Regions from separate parts of the Homo sapiens genome. Here all the other regions are linked to region 1. Evidence: promoter capture Hi-C in 16 types of primary human blood cells and fetal thymus (Javierre and others, 2016). All regions are on one chromosome and are shown on one strand. The core of a region is centred on a gene start or on the middle of the fragment in contact, and the rest is flanking DNA. Distances in the headings are between cores, read along the strand shown. Region 1 holds the start of DEPDC1-AS2 (DEPDC1 antisense RNA 2). Region 2 overlaps LRRC7 (leucine rich repeat containing 7). Region 3 overlaps LRRC7 (leucine rich repeat containing 7). Region 4 overlaps LRRC7 (leucine rich repeat containing 7). Region 5 overlaps LRRC7 (leucine rich repeat containing 7).

What was found. The method cuts DNA at HindIII sites, captures the fragments that hold promoters and counts their contacts. A CHiCAGO score of 5 or more calls a contact.
Region 2: a fragment that was not itself captured here is called in contact with the fragment with the promoter of DEPDC1-AS2 in region 1 in 1 of 17 cell types (megakaryocytes); the score reaches 5.9 in megakaryocytes.
Region 3: a fragment that was not itself captured here is called in contact with the fragment with the promoter of DEPDC1-AS2 in region 1 in 3 of 17 cell types (M0 macrophages, endothelial precursors and M2 macrophages); the score reaches 7.8 in M0 macrophages.
Region 4: a fragment that was not itself captured here is called in contact with the fragment with the promoter of DEPDC1-AS2 in region 1 in 1 of 17 cell types (endothelial precursors); the score reaches 6.7 in endothelial precursors.
Region 5: a fragment that was not itself captured here is called in contact with the fragment with the promoter of DEPDC1-AS2 in region 1 in 7 of 17 cell types (M2 macrophages, endothelial precursors, megakaryocytes and 4 more); the score reaches 17.3 in M2 macrophages.

Annotation. Positions count from the first base shown.
Region 1 is chr1:68,477,585-68,480,893 of GRCh38, reverse strand. It overlaps DEPDC1-AS2 (DEPDC1 antisense RNA 2), which reads right to left and starts at 1,765. Exons shown (of 2, transcript NR_198991.1): 1 at 1,585-1,765. It overlaps DEPDC1 (DEP domain containing 1), which reads left to right. Exons shown (of 12, transcript NM_001114120.3): 10 at 1,574-1,750; 11 at 2,922-3,107. The HindIII fragment of the contact is 5,599 bases long and covers 954-3,309 here.
Region 2 is chr1:70,140,107-70,143,475 of GRCh38, reverse strand. LRRC7 (leucine rich repeat containing 7) reads right to left here. Exons shown (of 27, transcript NM_001370785.2): 27 at 1-3,369. Among named protein-coding and RNA genes, the nearest start is that of LRRC40, 64 kb to the left of the region's middle. RefSeq lists an enhancer at 2,211-2,712. The HindIII fragment of the contact is 2,278 bases long and covers 949-3,226 here.
Region 3 is chr1:69,711,255-69,714,169 of GRCh38, reverse strand. All of the region lies in intron 2 of LRRC7 (leucine rich repeat containing 7), which reads right to left. Among named protein-coding and RNA genes, the nearest start is that of LRRC7, 140 kb to the right of the region's middle. The HindIII fragment of the contact is 4,412 bases long and covers 1-2,915 here.
Region 4 is chr1:69,690,288-69,693,507 of GRCh38, reverse strand. The region is part of intron 2 of LRRC7 (leucine rich repeat containing 7); the gene reads right to left. Among named protein-coding and RNA genes, the nearest start is that of LRRC7, 120 kb to the right of the region's middle. The HindIII fragment of the contact is 2,048 bases long and covers 868-2,915 here.
Region 5 is chr1:69,748,449-69,751,566 of GRCh38, reverse strand. All of the region lies in intron 2 of LRRC7 (leucine rich repeat containing 7), which reads right to left. Among named protein-coding and RNA genes, the nearest start is that of LRRC7, 180 kb to the right of the region's middle. The HindIII fragment of the contact is 1,622 bases long and covers 510-2,131 here.

The DNA of each region.
Region 1 (3,309 bases), core at 516-3,015:
AATAGTATCTTTAATCTCTTTCTTTTTTTTTAAGTCACCACTTCCTCAAAATGCAACTTCAATTTACAAGAGGTTCTTATAGCAAGGAATCCGGAGTTATGCTTTCTTCCACGCGTTATTAAAGATAGTTCTTTAACAATGACAGACCTAATATAAAGAAGAAGAATTATTCTTGAGTAATTATAGCACTATTAAAAAGCTAGGAAGTTTATAGAGGAAGATGTTTTCAGAGACATGACTGGGAAGGTGATAATTTTGGTTTTGCACTTTTAAGATTTGAAGTCATAGGACCTCCAAGAGAAATTGAAATTTGTCCAACAGAATGTTGGAAATATGAGCCAGGTGAAGAAAGATCAGGGGAGAATGCAAATTGATTTGGTCATTTACATAGGGATAGTACTTGAAGCTATGAGAGTAGATGAGCTCTACAAGGCTAAGAGTGTGAAGAAAGAGCAAAAGGCTGAGGTCTGAGCCATGGAAGGAGACAGGAAACCCCGAGTGATGTGTAGGAATAAAACTAAAAATGTATCAATTCTATAAATATTCTGATCATCTACTATGTGTGAAATATTTAAAACAATTCTGATTTCTAAGTATTTTAGAATGAGGGGTGTGTGTGTGTGTGTGTGTGTGTGTGTGTGGTACAGTTAGAGGGTTGCATAGATATAAGTGAAAGTAACGAGAGTAATAAGTGAGAGTAATCAATTTTATCCCAGGATTTGAAGATCCCATAAGATGGAATTGAAAAATGTGTGTTTTAAATTGCTGTCTAAAGACTGACAGAATAAACATTTTTAAAAACTATTTTCCAGCATTTCAAAAGCTAAATGGCATCAGCTTTGCAACCACTTATGAATAGAAGTGTTCTATATGTTACACATTCTCCTGGTTTGTGTTTTTCTGTGGGATTCATTTAATGTAATTAGTTATTGTTCTCTGACAATCTTTAAGCTTAAGCAACATATATATGTGGTATTAATAGAACCTATGGTGTTTACTGATAAAATTGTGACAAAATTGTAGAAAAACCAAAGCCTTTTATAATTCTTGGGAATTACATTAAGGATATACTTTTTTTTTTTTTTTCTGGTTACACAGGATCACGCTCTGTTTCCCAGGCTAGAGTACAGTGGTGTGATCATAGCTCACTGCACCCTGGAATTCCTGGGCTCAAAAAATCCTTCTGCCTCACTCTCCCAAGTAGCTGGAACCACAGTCATGCACCATCATGCCTGGCTAGTTTTTTATTTCTTCATAGGTATAGGGTTTCACTATGTTGCCTAGGCTGGCTTCGAACTCCTTGCCTCAAGTGAGCCTCTCACCTCAGCCTCCCAAAGTGCTTAGATTACAGGCATGAACCACCATGCTCAGCCATGGAAAAACTTTAAAAAGGATTTATGTATAATCAAATTCTTACATTTCTAACTGTATAAATCGTTGTCCTCATTTTTAAACTGAGGGCTGCTTACCACTTTTTCCCAATACTTCACATAATGCTACCTGGAAATTACCGATATTCTAGTTTGTATGCAACCTTAGCTTTTTAAATTCACATCTTTTAATATTTTTCTAGATGATACATACCTTTTCTCGATGTGTGTTATGCTGTGCTGAAGAAGTGGATCTTGATGAGCTTCTTGCTGGAAGATTAGTTTCTTTCTTAATGGATCATCATCAGGAAATTCTTCAAGTACCCTCTTACTTACAGACTGCAGTGGAAAAACATCTTGACTACTTAAAAAAGGGACATGTAAGTATTGTGAGTCTTAAAATTCTCTGCAATAGTCAGTTGCAAGTGGCAAACTCATCTCAAAATAGCTTAATCAAAAAGGGAGACTTTATCAGCTCCCATAAACAACCTCTAAAAGTCAGGAATGTAGACAGAATCTGGGACTCAAATAGCTATATGACTCTTTCCATCCCTCCATCTCTTATTTCTGTGTTGATCCTGTGTTTGACAATGGCTCCTTCACATGATGAGGAATGTGGCTAGTTGAAGTTCATGAGTTAGAGCCTTACATTTGCAATTCAAAGGAAAAAGAGCCATTCCTCCGTCTCCAATTTAAAAGCTCTGGATGTAGACTCTTAGCATAGTTGAGGTTAAATATGCATCGTTTAGGTTGTTAAGAGTGAGTAGGATGGAGATAGGGCCTTACTCTGATTGGTTCTACACAAAGGAGAATTTATTCTTCACAAAAGGTGAAGGTAGAGGGGTAAAATGGGAAGGAACTATTAAAAGAAGGAGAGAAGGAATACTGAGCAGCCAAAATAACAGACATCTACTGTATTCTGTCTTTGGCTGCCCAACACATGTTTATGTTTTTCCCATACATACCATTCTAATATTGCCCTGGCTTATAATTATAACTATCTCCTAGAATTTCTTTCTCTTATCAGAAGATGTTAGAAGCTCTGCCTATGTCCCTAGGCCTCAAAAAAAAAAAAAATACATGAAAACTAAAAATATTTCATTTCAGTAAATATGCTGATCATCTACTACCTGCACTGTCAGAACATTAAAGTCTTAAGATGAATTAGAATAACACTTAGATTGTTATTTTATAGTTAAAAGAATAAAATCCATAGTTAATGGTAATAATTATAATACCTGTCTTTATTTAATGCTTATTGTGGGCTGAGCCCTTTCTATACATTTTCTTATGTAATTTCCATTTTAATGATGAAGAAACAGACCAAGAAAAGTTAAATACATTGTTGAATGCTACAAACCAAGTAGATTATGGAGCTGGGGTTTAGAACCTACTGACTTACATACCTCTACTGCATAATACATAGTTTTTTTAATGGCTGAATGTTTGATTGGTGGTAAATTAATAGGTGCTAGATCCCATCAAAAGAATACTTTATCATATAAGAACATGACCAGAATTAACAGAGTTATATCATTTTGATCACTACAGATTGAAAATCCTGGAGATGGACTATTTGCTCCTTTGCCAACTTACTCATACTGTAAGCAGATTAGTGCTCAGGAGTTTGATGAGCAAAAAGTTTCTACCTCTCAAGCTGCAATTGCAGAACTTTTAGAAAATATTATTAAAAACAGGAGTTTACCTCTAAAGGAGAAAAGAAAAAAACTAAAACAGGTAAGAGAATGAGCAAGTTCTCAATCATGTAAACATTTTCTAATGTGCTGTTCCTGGTTGTTAATAACATTTAGAATCTACTTTCTTATTTTAATATTTTAGATTTTAAGTTTGAGTTATATAGACTATATATTATGATGTCTTGTATATGTGCGTTAACCTAAAACATGTGAGTACCTACCTGATTTTGCTCTTTATCCTG
Region 2 (3,369 bases), core at 838-3,337, 1.7 Mb before region 1:
AATATACAATATGTCTATGTAAAATGTCAATGTTTACTATTGCACATTAAAAGGTTCACAAAGACTGCAAAAGAAGTCATAAAGAAGCACTTTCTTTACCAGTCGAATATTGTAAATTTGAAAACGACTTGATAATATAATGGGATTTCTTTGAAATCAGATCCCAATTCAAGTTCTTTCTCTGGCTAAAGGAGCTCTGGTTACTTGGCCTTAAGATGTCACTGTTGTGCTGCACATATGGTAGTGAAGTCAGAGATCATTAAAAAAAAAAAAAAAGTCTAGAGACTCTTCATTTTACTAAAATAGCGACCCAAAGTTGTATCACTGCTTAGGAATTTTTCTTAAACTTACAGAAGAGTGAAATATTTCACTAACTGAATTATATGAGCTGAAATGAGAAAAAGAAAATTTATGTGTGTGTGTTTGGCATATGGGAAAATACAAATTCATATAGGTAGAAGTAGAACTTCTTTATAGAGTAGTAAAAGGATTATGCCCCAAAATAACTGAGGTCAAAAGTAATCAATTATGAAATCGTTTAGGAAAAAATAATTTTCATAGATACTTAGAAAACATCCAAAACATAATATCTAGTATCCTTTTACATATAATTCTTAACAAACCATCTGAAAACCTACCACTGTCTTCCTTCAGAATTGCTTATGTTAGTTTAATATTTCTTTTTTGAATAGAAAGACCCTAGTTCATGTTATGGTTTTCTTATATATAGCTGGTTGGGGGAGCCCTTGGGCAGTTATAAAGTGGAAAAAATAAAACTGTATTATTACTTTCAATAAGCAACAGTAATCTTGCAGTAGTTTCACTTTTTTCAAGGTCTTTTGTGGTGGTCTTTAAAATTTACAAACAGAATTTGGTAGATTTACTTCTAATTTTCCACTAGTAAAAAATTTCTTCTTCATATGAAGACAATGTCATTATCCTTAAGCTTCCTTTAGTCCCTACTGAGTACAAAGAGAAACTTGATTGGCTCTTCAAACAAAAACTATCTGTTTATCTGTCAATTACCTTTCTCTTCATTTCAAACAGAAAATAGGCTTGTGTTTTCAAGGATGAAAGTGTATTTGAGGATGTTAAAGAGAAATGCCCAAACATTATAAAGCCGAAGTATTAAGCATTCATTGCATTCCACTGACGCTAGGTGTCATCAAAGCTAAAACCAAATTTTCTAGAGTAAAACTTACATACAACAGTCCTTACTGACCTGAACCAGATGCCTTTTCCACATTCAAGCCAAATAAGAGTCCTCTGAGTGGAAAGACTACAAGTATTGAAAATAAAAATTATTTCAACAATATATTCTGAAAATTAATGACCTTTCTAGCAGATATGGGAGCTGCTTTATGTTGTCTGCCTGAGAGTTTCATCTTGCTTTTCCTATGGACCGTCCAAAAATATTACATAAGATTTCCTGACTAAATAAGAAATATTCTTTAGTAGAGGGTTGGGGAAGGGTAAGAGGAATGGAGAGATACAAAGAAATACAATGTGATTTCTTTTGTCCATTTGTCAAATGCTTTCGTTAAGCTATTAAAAAGGTCAATTGACCTGCATACCTGGGCATTATTTAACCTCATTATTTTAGCTGTGCAAAACAAATGTGCAAAGAAAAACACCTCCTATTTATGTGTGCCTATACATAGACACAAAACCTGAGTCACCATAAAAGTTTTCAATATAAGAAACCTTTTCTTAATATAGGAAAATAACCTTTAAAGAGCCAAAAATATCTTTGTACAATATAAGCAGCTAACTTTAAAACTTCAGTGTACTTAAGTATCACATATTTTATAAGATCCAGCAAAAAAGGGATCATTTACATTTGATAATTTTCTTAACTATAGCTGAGATAACCACATTTTAATTTCTAACATGTATTTTCATTCCCCTGAATTCATTGATTTTTTTTTTAAAGCACATTCAAATAAGTCCTGTTTAATTTCTGACAAACAGTTCCTGCTTGTTTCTAGATATTGAGGACATAGGAGATTTAGGATTGCTAGGCCTATAATTTAGTGCCAAGCCACAATGGAATTCCAAAGTTCAAAACAAAATATATCATTTTATTAAGAGAAACATTATTTGCAAAAGTATTTGTAGACAGAGTTGGGCCAAAGTCTGCATGAAGCTATTGTCTCATTTGCAGGCTCCCTTTCTACTGACTTAACTCTTAAAAACCCTTTCTTTCTCCATGCTCCATTTCCTTATTTTTCAGTAGGCTTCATACCCTTTTCGTACCTGAACCCTGAATTGTCCCAACTGAATGAAGCTCCCTTGCTCATTTGCAGCCACCAGTTAACAATGTCCTCTTATCTACATCTTTTGTTATCTCTTCCTCTTTATGAGCTTAGAACTCTGGGATGACTCCTTGGCCTCTCCTCCTGTGCCACTTAACTACTCATTAGAGGAAAATCTGCTTGAGTGTTCCATTGCCTTATTAGTCACTGATTTAAGGCTCAATTCAGGACATACTTATTCCCTGGGCTACACCTCAGTTGCGAACTGAGGAAAGTTGTTTATAGAAAAATGACTGAAAGTTGCTTCTCGATGCTGCTCCCAGTGGTCCTTGTCATTAATTATGCATTTATGTCAGTTAAGTCACTGACACTTAGGGAGAAGGGAAAGCCATCTGAACCAAAATATTCAGTCTTTGTGGCTGTGATTGGATAGGAGGGCCTTTGAATACTTGTATCAGTAAAGAGATACTGGGCAGGGCCCTTGAATGCTTTTTTTCTCAAGCCTGGTTTGGGAATAAGGTGGAAAATGCATGCAAGAGAGTAAAGGATTAGAGGCATTAGCCAAGGGAACTGTAGTCAATTCCTGACTTTTTATATTATACTTGCCTGAGGATCACCAGAAGGATTTTGTCTTGTGCAGAAGGCTAAAAGCAGAGTCATACTTTCTCTGCCAACAGACTTGTTGCCATGGGAACCAGTGCAGAAAAATGAAAATATGACAAGAAGCCAAGGATTAAATGTAGAAAATTGATAGGGAGTTGATTTCTACATGGCAATTTAAGCATTGAGGATTTAAAGAAACAGGATGTTCCTTATGTGGCCAGATCAATGAAAATGGACAAAATGACTTACCAGTAGCTGGTCCTAGGGGGCTGAGGTGTGGAAAATGGAAGGAGAAAGTAGTAAGCGTGCTGTAGTTTGGATAAGGGGAACTTTGTAAAATCTAATTCCACTCCTGATGAGGTTAAGCTTGCAGCCCAATGTTAAAATTAACTGTAGGATCAAATATACCCTTTGGAAAGGCATGCCCATGCTTAGCTTGATAAAAGCAGCCTGATGTAACAATTTTCTTTTCACCTTTCCAAAACCAGCACATACTACTCGACAAGATTAT
Region 3 (2,915 bases), core at 212-2,711, 1.2 Mb before region 1:
AGGGGAGTTGAGTGTGTCTGGGAGTGGCAGAAGGAGAATCTCATTCCGGGAAGAGGGAAGGCCTGGAGAGCAAGGTGAATTGGTGTAAGGCTGTGGCCAGTCCATATAACATACCTCTCTGCATATGACTCTTTTTGCAAATTGTACAAAATATTTGTTATGAGGGTGCTGGATGAGTTTAGCTTTGGGATTAATAAGAGACAGAATAAGAAGAGAGAGAAGAAGAGAGTCCCAGGAATTAGCAAGATTACTGGGTAAATTTTCTAAGCAAAGCTCTTAGGTGTCTGATACACAAGCATTCAGCCATTGTGATTAACATTTTGTGACTGGAAATTCTTATTTGGGGCAAAAGTCTGTATTAATGTTAAACAATTATCTCTATTCCCCAGAATTCAAACCCTTTGATCAGTTTCATACGAGATGCCATGCAGATTCCAACTCTGTGTAATTCAAGTAACTAAGGTTTAGCTGAAATGATCATAAACGTAGCTGGACATTAAGGAAACAGTCATTCAACAGTCTGATTAAATACCATTTGATGTAGCATAGGCCTACAACTTAGAAAACAGGAATCAGATAATTTAATTTCTTTTTCTGTAAAATGGCAGTAATCATCAAACTTAACATCTCATAGTTAAAAAAAAAAGTAAAATAAGCTCTTTCTGTTTGTTTTTGAGACAGGGTCTCGCTTTGTCATCCAGGCTGGGGTGCAGTGGCACAATCACGGCTCACTGGTGGCCTTGACCTCCCAGGCTCAAGTGATCCTCCAACCTCGGCCTCCAGAGTAGATGACGTTACAGGTGAAGGTCACCACACCTGTCTAAATATATATATATACATTTTTTTTTGAGAGACCAAGTCTCACTATGCTTCCTGGGCTGATCTGGAACTCCTAGGCTCAAGTGAGCCTCCTGCTTTGGCCCCCCAAAGTGCTGGGATTACAGGTATGAACCACCGTGCCTGGCCTTAAAATAAGTTCTTCTTAAGAGCAAACACTCTCCTTAGAAGAAGGGTATTTGTTATTATTATTTTTTATTACAATAGGTAAAATTATATGCCTAAAATATATTATTACAGTATCCATGAAAGTGATATCTTAAAAATAAACTATTACATTCTTGTTGTCTGTAATCTTGTCATTTTGTTGAAAACAAAACGTGCCCCTCCACGTTCAGGGAGATTCGCCATTCAATACACTGGAGGGAATATGTGGCTAAATTTAGAACAACAGATCTTTGTGTTACATAGGCAGCAGTTATTATTTAAAGTATGCATAGACTTGCTTTTTTCCCTTGCAGATAGCTGAAACTGGGCCTTTCCATGGCTAATGCAATATGGACATCATCACCCCACTCCTTCATACAAGAGAAATAAAGCCAGCAAAGCACACATACTTTTAAACACAGTATTTTATTATTCTTTTATAAGAGACCAAATGCACTTAGTCACTAGTGATACTACATTTTTAATGCTGAAAGAAAAAATAAAAATAACTTTTTGTTATAATAGAGACCAGAATACTAGCCCTAATGGTTCTTTTTTTGTTGTTGGTTTGTTTGTTTTGTGAGATGGAGTCTCGCTCTGTCGCCCAGGCTGGAGTGCAATGGCGCAATCTTGGCTCACTGCAACCGCTGCCTCCTGGGTTCAAGCAATTCTCCCTGCCTCTGCCTCCTGAATAGCTTGGATTACAGGCGCCCACCACCAAGCCTGGCTAATTTTTCTATTTTTAGTAGAGATAGGGTTTCGCCATGTTGGCCAGGCTGGTCTCAAACTCCTGACCTCAGGTGATCTGCCTGACTCGGCCTCCCAGAGTGCTGGGATTACAGGCGTAGCCACTGCACCTGGCCCTTTTTTTCCTAAATAAAATACTTTAGAAAATTAAATTTTAAAGCACTTGCGCGTGTGCACGTGTGTGTGTGTGTGTGTGTGTGTGTTCTTTTTCTCAGTGCTACCACTGTCCTCATTGGTTGGGGGTACACTTGGCTAAGTGACTGAGCCTCCAGGTTAAAGTCTATTTTAAACGACTTTATGAGATAACTTATATATGAAAGTATTGTTTGAAAGCCTTTTGAAAGGCTCCTTGCTTTGGGCCATAACTCTTTTTAGTGGCATTTCTGGTTTCTAGATTTTTAGTCAAAATTTTTGAAATACAATCTCCTCATGCAGTGCTTTGATTATATGTAAATGATGACACAAGATCCCCACTCATTGTGCATATTAGGTACATGCTAATTCTCACCAGCATATACTTCCTGAACTTTCTACATCTTTCTGTGGCCCAAGCTGCATTTGACTCCAGTTTGACCTGCCTCCGACATGCTACTCAAAAGTGGAAAGTACGGTTAAAAGTCCTTAGGGTATAAGCTCCTACTTAAAACATGGTTTCCCAGGGGCAAAGACCTTGTTCAGTTATGCTTATAATCAGTGTTTATGACTCTAGACACTGTAATATTTATCAAGTGTTGCTACAGCACTTGAGCCATGACGACACGGTAAATAGGCCAGATTTGAATGCCAAGCACTACAACTACCCAGCTTCACATTTCAATTATATTTAAATGAAATTGCCTAATGCAAGTGTTTAAAAGTTCATTAAAATTAACCTTTTGAATCCAGAGGGTGCAGTGGGCACTTGTGATAATACCACAGTTCTAGATTTAGGTTTTCAATTACTGAGTAAATGAAAAATTCAGGGGATTTGAAATGTCAAGGATGCTTTGAAACAGATATTGAATTGGCTAAGAACTTTAACTCAGTCTCATGGTCAATGTTCTCTAGTGTTTTGTGACATGATCACTAACAGTCATTGATTATTTAGTGCCAACAATGTGCTAGGAGCTGTTGAAGTACAGGCACTGCATATCAAAGAAATGTGATAAGCATTACTCCAAGCAAGAATTGTGATAGAGAGCATA
Region 4 (3,220 bases), core at 642-3,141, 1.2 Mb before region 1:
CTTTTAGACTTGAATGGCAATGTCAACTCCTCCCTAGGTCTCCAGCCTATCGGCCTATCCTGCAGATTTTGGACTTGCCTGTCTCCAAAATCATGGGAGCCAATTTCTTAAAATAAATCTCTCTCTATACATACACATACATTCTATAGGTTCTGTTTCTCCTGAGAACAGTGACTAACACAGACACTCGGTCAAATTTGAGTCTCAGATAAGCAATGAATTTTTTTTTAGTAGAAATGAGCCTAAATATTATATGGGATATATAGATGTCTATATCATCTATATCTATATCTAATCTATCAATTTATATAGAAAGGGGTCAATGAGATTTATTGCAAGGAATTGGTTCAACCAATTATAGAGGTTGAGTAGTTCCATAATCTGCTGTTCATAAGCTGGAGACCCAGGAAAGCCAGTGATGTAGTTTGAAGGCATGCGAGACACGGAACCAACAGTGTAGACTCCTGTCCGTGTCTGCGAGCCTGAAAACCAGGAGCACCAAAGGCAGGAGAAGATGGATGTCCCAGCTCCAGCAGTGAGCAGAGCCACACTTTTGTTCTATTCACGTCCTCATGGATTGGATGGTCCCCACCCACATTAGGGAGGGCTGCCTGCTTTAGGGAAGGCCCATATTAGGGAGGGCTACCAACTTAAATACTATTTTTTTTTCTGAAAACATTCGCATAGACACACCTGGAAATAATGTTTAGCCAGATCTGTGCATACTGTGGCCCAGTCAAGTTTACATACAAAATTATCCAACATGCTGTGTATTACAAGCACACAAGAGGGAGAGCCATACAGCTGACATTAAGTCAATATTTGTTGAATAAATGAGTGTAATTTGATCATCATATTTTGGAAGCTTCAAGAATAATGTAAGACACAATTTGAGATGACAGTAGAATATGAAGGGTCAAGGCCTTGGTTTAGAATGGTCTTGCAGTTAAATCCACATTGCTCCTCCTCTCTGCTCCCAGTAATCTCAGAAGGACCCACGAAAAAGTAGGGATTGATATCTGGGTAAAGGCTGCCCTAATAAATGCCCTTCTAGCTGTCTAAAGGCTTAATATTTAAGCCTAATGCCTTAAGAGATAAAGACTTTAGGGAACATTAGAAGTGAGGTGCTTATCATGCACTCATCTATTTTCTGTGTAGAGGGATTTCCCCAATACTCTTGACTTCTTATATCATTTCTAACTCCGTTAGGAAGTGAGGTGATTTACCCAGTTAATAAATACTGGAGGAGAACTGGGCATAAGTAGCCCAGTACCTTCCTCCATCTTTCTTTGAGATGGAACTGCTTCAGCTAAGATACACTACATTAATCTGCTCCTCACTGCTGTAAGTTTTGTAGCAGGAGTTCCCCAAAAAAGAAGCCCTGTGGTTTCTTGTACTGCTGTGTTTAGGTGGATAGGTATGCCCATTTCTAGAGTATATTATGAAAAACCCCATAGTTGCCAAAAATCCCAACTGTGTTCTCCAATCTAGCCTTTATAAGTAATAAAGATCAAGCATCATAAAAATCTTTATTACTTAAAAATAATGTCTGATATCTTGTCAATATTTTAATTGGTTTCAAAATTGTTTTGCAATATGAAAGTTATCTATTGGATGCCTTTAAACTCCAACTGTACTGTCAACTACAACTACTGTGGCTTAAATCAAGTTGCTTCTTTTCTTTTCTTTTTTTTTTTTTTTTTTTTTTTTGAGACAGGGTCTCCCTCTTTTGCCCAGGCTGGAGTGCAGCAGTGTAATCACAACTCACTGCAGCCTCGACCTCCCAGGCTCAAGCAATCCTCCCACCTCAGCCTCCTGAGTATCTGGGACTACAGGCATGTGCCACTACTCCTGGCTAATTTTTGTTCTTTTTGTAGAGACAGAGTTTCGCCATGTTGCTCAGGCCCATCTCAAGCTCCTGAGCTTAAGCGATCCACCTGGCTTAGCCTCCCAAAGCATTGGGATTACAGGGGTCAGCCACTGTACCTGGCCAAGTTGTATCCTTTATAATTCATTCCTTTTTATTTTTTTCAAACTTTATTAGAGTGATGACTGTATACCAAATGCTGTGCTTAATGTTAGTGACAGACAGATAAATAGGATGCGTCTGTTTGCCCTTAAGCAATTTACAACTCACTGGGGAAGAAACAGACATGCAAACAACGAGATAAAACACAATTAGATGAGTGCTACAATAATAATCTTTTTGTAATATTTCAGGAACAGATAGAATGGAGGTCCTGAAACCATCCCTATAAACTTCATAAAATTATTCAGGTAAGAAGGGAGGGGGAGAAACAAGAAACAAAAATAAACCAAACTTTCAGCCCATTCAATGTTAAACACTAGGCCAGCTTGCCCTCTGACCTGCTTCCCCATGGTTGTTTGGGGCCTATTACCTCAGAATCACCCAGACCCTGTTACAAGATTATTTCCCCTTAGCTGCTCTATAGATAACTTCCTGAACATTATGAAACATTGTTTTCCCTTTGAGATATTCTTTCAGGTCCTGCATACTAGTAAAACTGCTGATATCAGCTGCTCTGTAGGACCCTATTGACACAAGCTGGTCTGAAAGACCCCACAAGAAGCTGAGTCACCAAAGAATGGGTTTCAATGTAATGATGATTTCATTCTCCTTACCTCAACCAACAACTCCAATTTTCCAGGCCCTTACCCTCTATGATTCCCTTAAAAAGCCCAGCCCAGAACTTCAGGATGGGGAAATGGATTTGAGGGTCTCCTTCATCTCCGCACTTGGTGCTCTGCTCTGTGGTCATTTAGCTTTTTCTCTGGGGCAAATCCAGCTGTCTCAGTGTATCTGGTGTGTTATTGTATAGTGGGCATATGAACCTGTTGGTCCTTTAACAGTCCTGATGTCTGCCAAGAAGAGGAGGAGAGGCATCAGGGAAGCTTTCATAAGGAAGGAATGAATAACAAAATAGTTACTGCTAATACGAAAGGAAGGGTGTAAAAAGGGCTGAAATTTTATTCAAAAAAATCCTTCATCAAATAACAAAACTAACCTTTGTCAAAAATATGTAGTAGTTGAAATTTGCTTTTCAAATCCCTCACTTAAATATTTTTCTGACTTTTTCCTACTTCTTCCCGGACATCCAAAGATCTCTTGCTACCTGATTCCTTCTAGTTATTGAGGCCATTGATCTGAAAACACTTTCATGTTGAATGAAGTTTTATGACTTGACTACAGTTACTCCTC
Region 5 (3,118 bases), core at 71-2,570, 1.3 Mb before region 1:
ATTGTGCTTTCCTTCATAATTTGTTGTTTTGATTATACTTTAATTCTCTTAATTCTGTACTTGCAGTCCTCTTTTGCTTTTCCTTCTTTCCTTTTTTCCTTCTATATTAAATATTTTATGTCTTTCTTTTCCTTTCTTTACCATTCAGTCAATCTAATTCAGACCCTTGCCATCTTCTAGTAGTAATGCCAATGAAAATACTGCACAAAAGTACACTATTTCTAGACATGTAATAAATACTTATTAATTGTCTACTATATGTTAGGTACTGGTTTATATGTTGAATAATACAAATGAGTTAAAAAGCTATGGTGCCTGCTCTACTGAATTTATTGGATAGTAAGAGAGATGAGCATCAAATAAAAAGTTATTTAAATAAATCCATAATTGCATATTATAATTGCTATAAAAGCAAATATTAGAGTTTTATCCTTTTTACATATTGACACATACATTTAAGACATTAATTAATCTCTTAAAATGCACATCCATTCCCCAGTTTAAAAGCTTCACTGAGTCTACATTTTCAACAACAGTATTTCCCAGACCATGCTCCTGGGTTACATCTTCCTCTTAGACATAAGCTGAGAGGAGATCATAATCCCATATGCATTAGCATATTAAGAACTCATGGAAATTGCTATGGTTTGACTTATGTCCCCTTCAAAATTCATGTTAAAACTTAATCCCCATGTGGTGATATCAAGAGGTGGGGCCTTCTGAGAAGTGACTAAGTCATGAAGACCCCGCCCTCATGAATGGATTAATGCCTTACAAAAGGGCTAAAGGAAACCAGTTTAGGCTCTGTTCTTCTGTTCCTTTGCCATGTGAAGACACAGCAACAATTCCATTCAGTGGATGCAGCAATAAGACATCATCTTGGAAGGGGAGACTGGGCCCTCAACAGACTCTGAACTTGCTGGCACCTTGATCTTGGACTCCTAGCCTCCAGAATTGTGAGAAATAAATTTCCACAGCTTATAAATTACTCAGTATTTCATTATAGCAGCACAAATGAACTAAGGCAGAGGTCTTGTGATAAATTAAAAAACTACATTTATCTTTGTTCAAACCAATGTTTTCTAGATACCTTTTTAATTAAAAATTTAATTATACATATGGTTGTACATATTTATGGGGTACAGGCAATATTCTAATACAAGTGTACAATGTGTGACAATCAAATCAGAGTAATTGGGATATGTATAACCTCAAACATTTATCATTTCTTTGTGTTAGTAACATTCTAAATCTTTTAAATATTTCAAAATATACATTATTGCTAAATAAGAGTTTCCTTGCTGTGCTACTGAACACTAGAACTTGCTCCTTTGCTCTTAACTGTATTTTTTTACCCATTAACCAACCTTTCCTCATTAGTATTCTGAATTACCCACTTTATGAAAGGGTGCTCTACAAGATTCTTTAGCTTGACATTCAAGTTCTCTTTAACCTCACTTTTCAGTTATTATTATTTATTTATTTATTTATTTATTTATTTATTTTTGAGACATAGTCTTGCTCTGTCGCCAGGCTGGAGTGCAGTGGCGTGATCTCAGCTCACTGCAACCTCCACCTCCCGGGTTCAAGCGATTCCCCTGCCTCAGCCTCCCGAATAGCTGGGACTACAGGCACATGCCACCATGCCTGGCTAATTTTTATATTTTAGTAGAGAAGGGGTTTCACCATGTTGGCCAAGATGGTCTCGATCTCCTGACCTCGTGATCCGCCCACCTCAGCCTCCCAAAGTGCTGGGATTACAGGCGTGAACTTTTCAGTTTTCTACCTTCTACTTCCCTGAAGACACTTTCCCTATTCTATGCTCTAGCTTACACTACTCCCAAAACTGAATATCTTTCATCTATTTTCTTCATCTATGTCAACCCTACCAATCTATGGTAAAACTTATATTTTTAAAAAATAATGTTGAATGATTTTTGTTTGTAATTATAATTTGTAAATCTTAAAACATCACAGTAGCTGATGTTACAGAAACCTGAGAATTGGAACTTTTTGGTTGATAGAATATTCCGTCTCACTCTTTAATTTATTTAGGTCATTGTTTTCTAGTCATAGTGTGCATTGTTAAACAAAATCCACAGAATTTGAGTTTGGAGCACTTATTGAAGCTTAAATTTGTCTTCTTTTTAAAAATCTTCTGTTCCATATTTATAAATAATGCTGCTTTCCTGGTCTGTCTTCTACTCTTCACCATTATTACAGTCATTGTAACACTAAAGAACATCAACTTATGGATTATAGGATCAAGCTAGAAGCAATTCCTTGAGAGAAGGTTTGTACTAAGTAGTGGCATATACAAACTCACTCAAAATCTGTCCTCATCATATCACCTGGGTGAAAAACTATACTATAGTACTTTTGTTTTTCTCTTTCCACACATTCTGTCTTGACATTTTTGTCTGCTAACTTATTTAAATATGCAAATATACATGTAAGGACAGTAGAAAGAAAATTACAACATCAGGTTAAAATTAGCCAAAGTTCAGAGACAAGTTCTAATTCAGTAATAAACTATTCCACCTATGTTTCTTGAAGAGTTTGGCTTCCAGGCAAGTTGTGAAACTGACCCAAGAGCAGCATGAAGAAACACATTTCTAAGCATTAGGATACTCTCAAAGATCTAACTTTCATAAGGTAATAACCTAAAATAATTAGTTTCTGGAATAATATCTGAAGGCTTGACCCAGAATAAAAGAATAAAAAGACACAGAATAAAAGAGCAGAGCAGAAGTAGTCAGATAGAGGCTATTTTATTGACAGACTCTCAAGTTTGGAAGGACCCTCAGTCTAATCACTTACCTGATCCTTGAATATATTACTCAGATGATGTTCTTACACCTTAAGATCTCCTGAGAAATTTTCATACTGTAGTACAAGATTTATGTTCTTAATGATGAGTCAGTTATCAAGACAAAGATCAATGATTTGGCATGGTCTATTGAGAAGCCAGAGGTGTGTTTAGTACTTTTAAATGTGTTTTAATCAAATACTTTATTTAATAAAACTTTGAGTATACTGATGGTCAAAATTTATTTTGTTAAAATTTCCACTTTATGTGAAGCATTTTACTCCACAGCTTCTTCCAGAGATTTGAGTA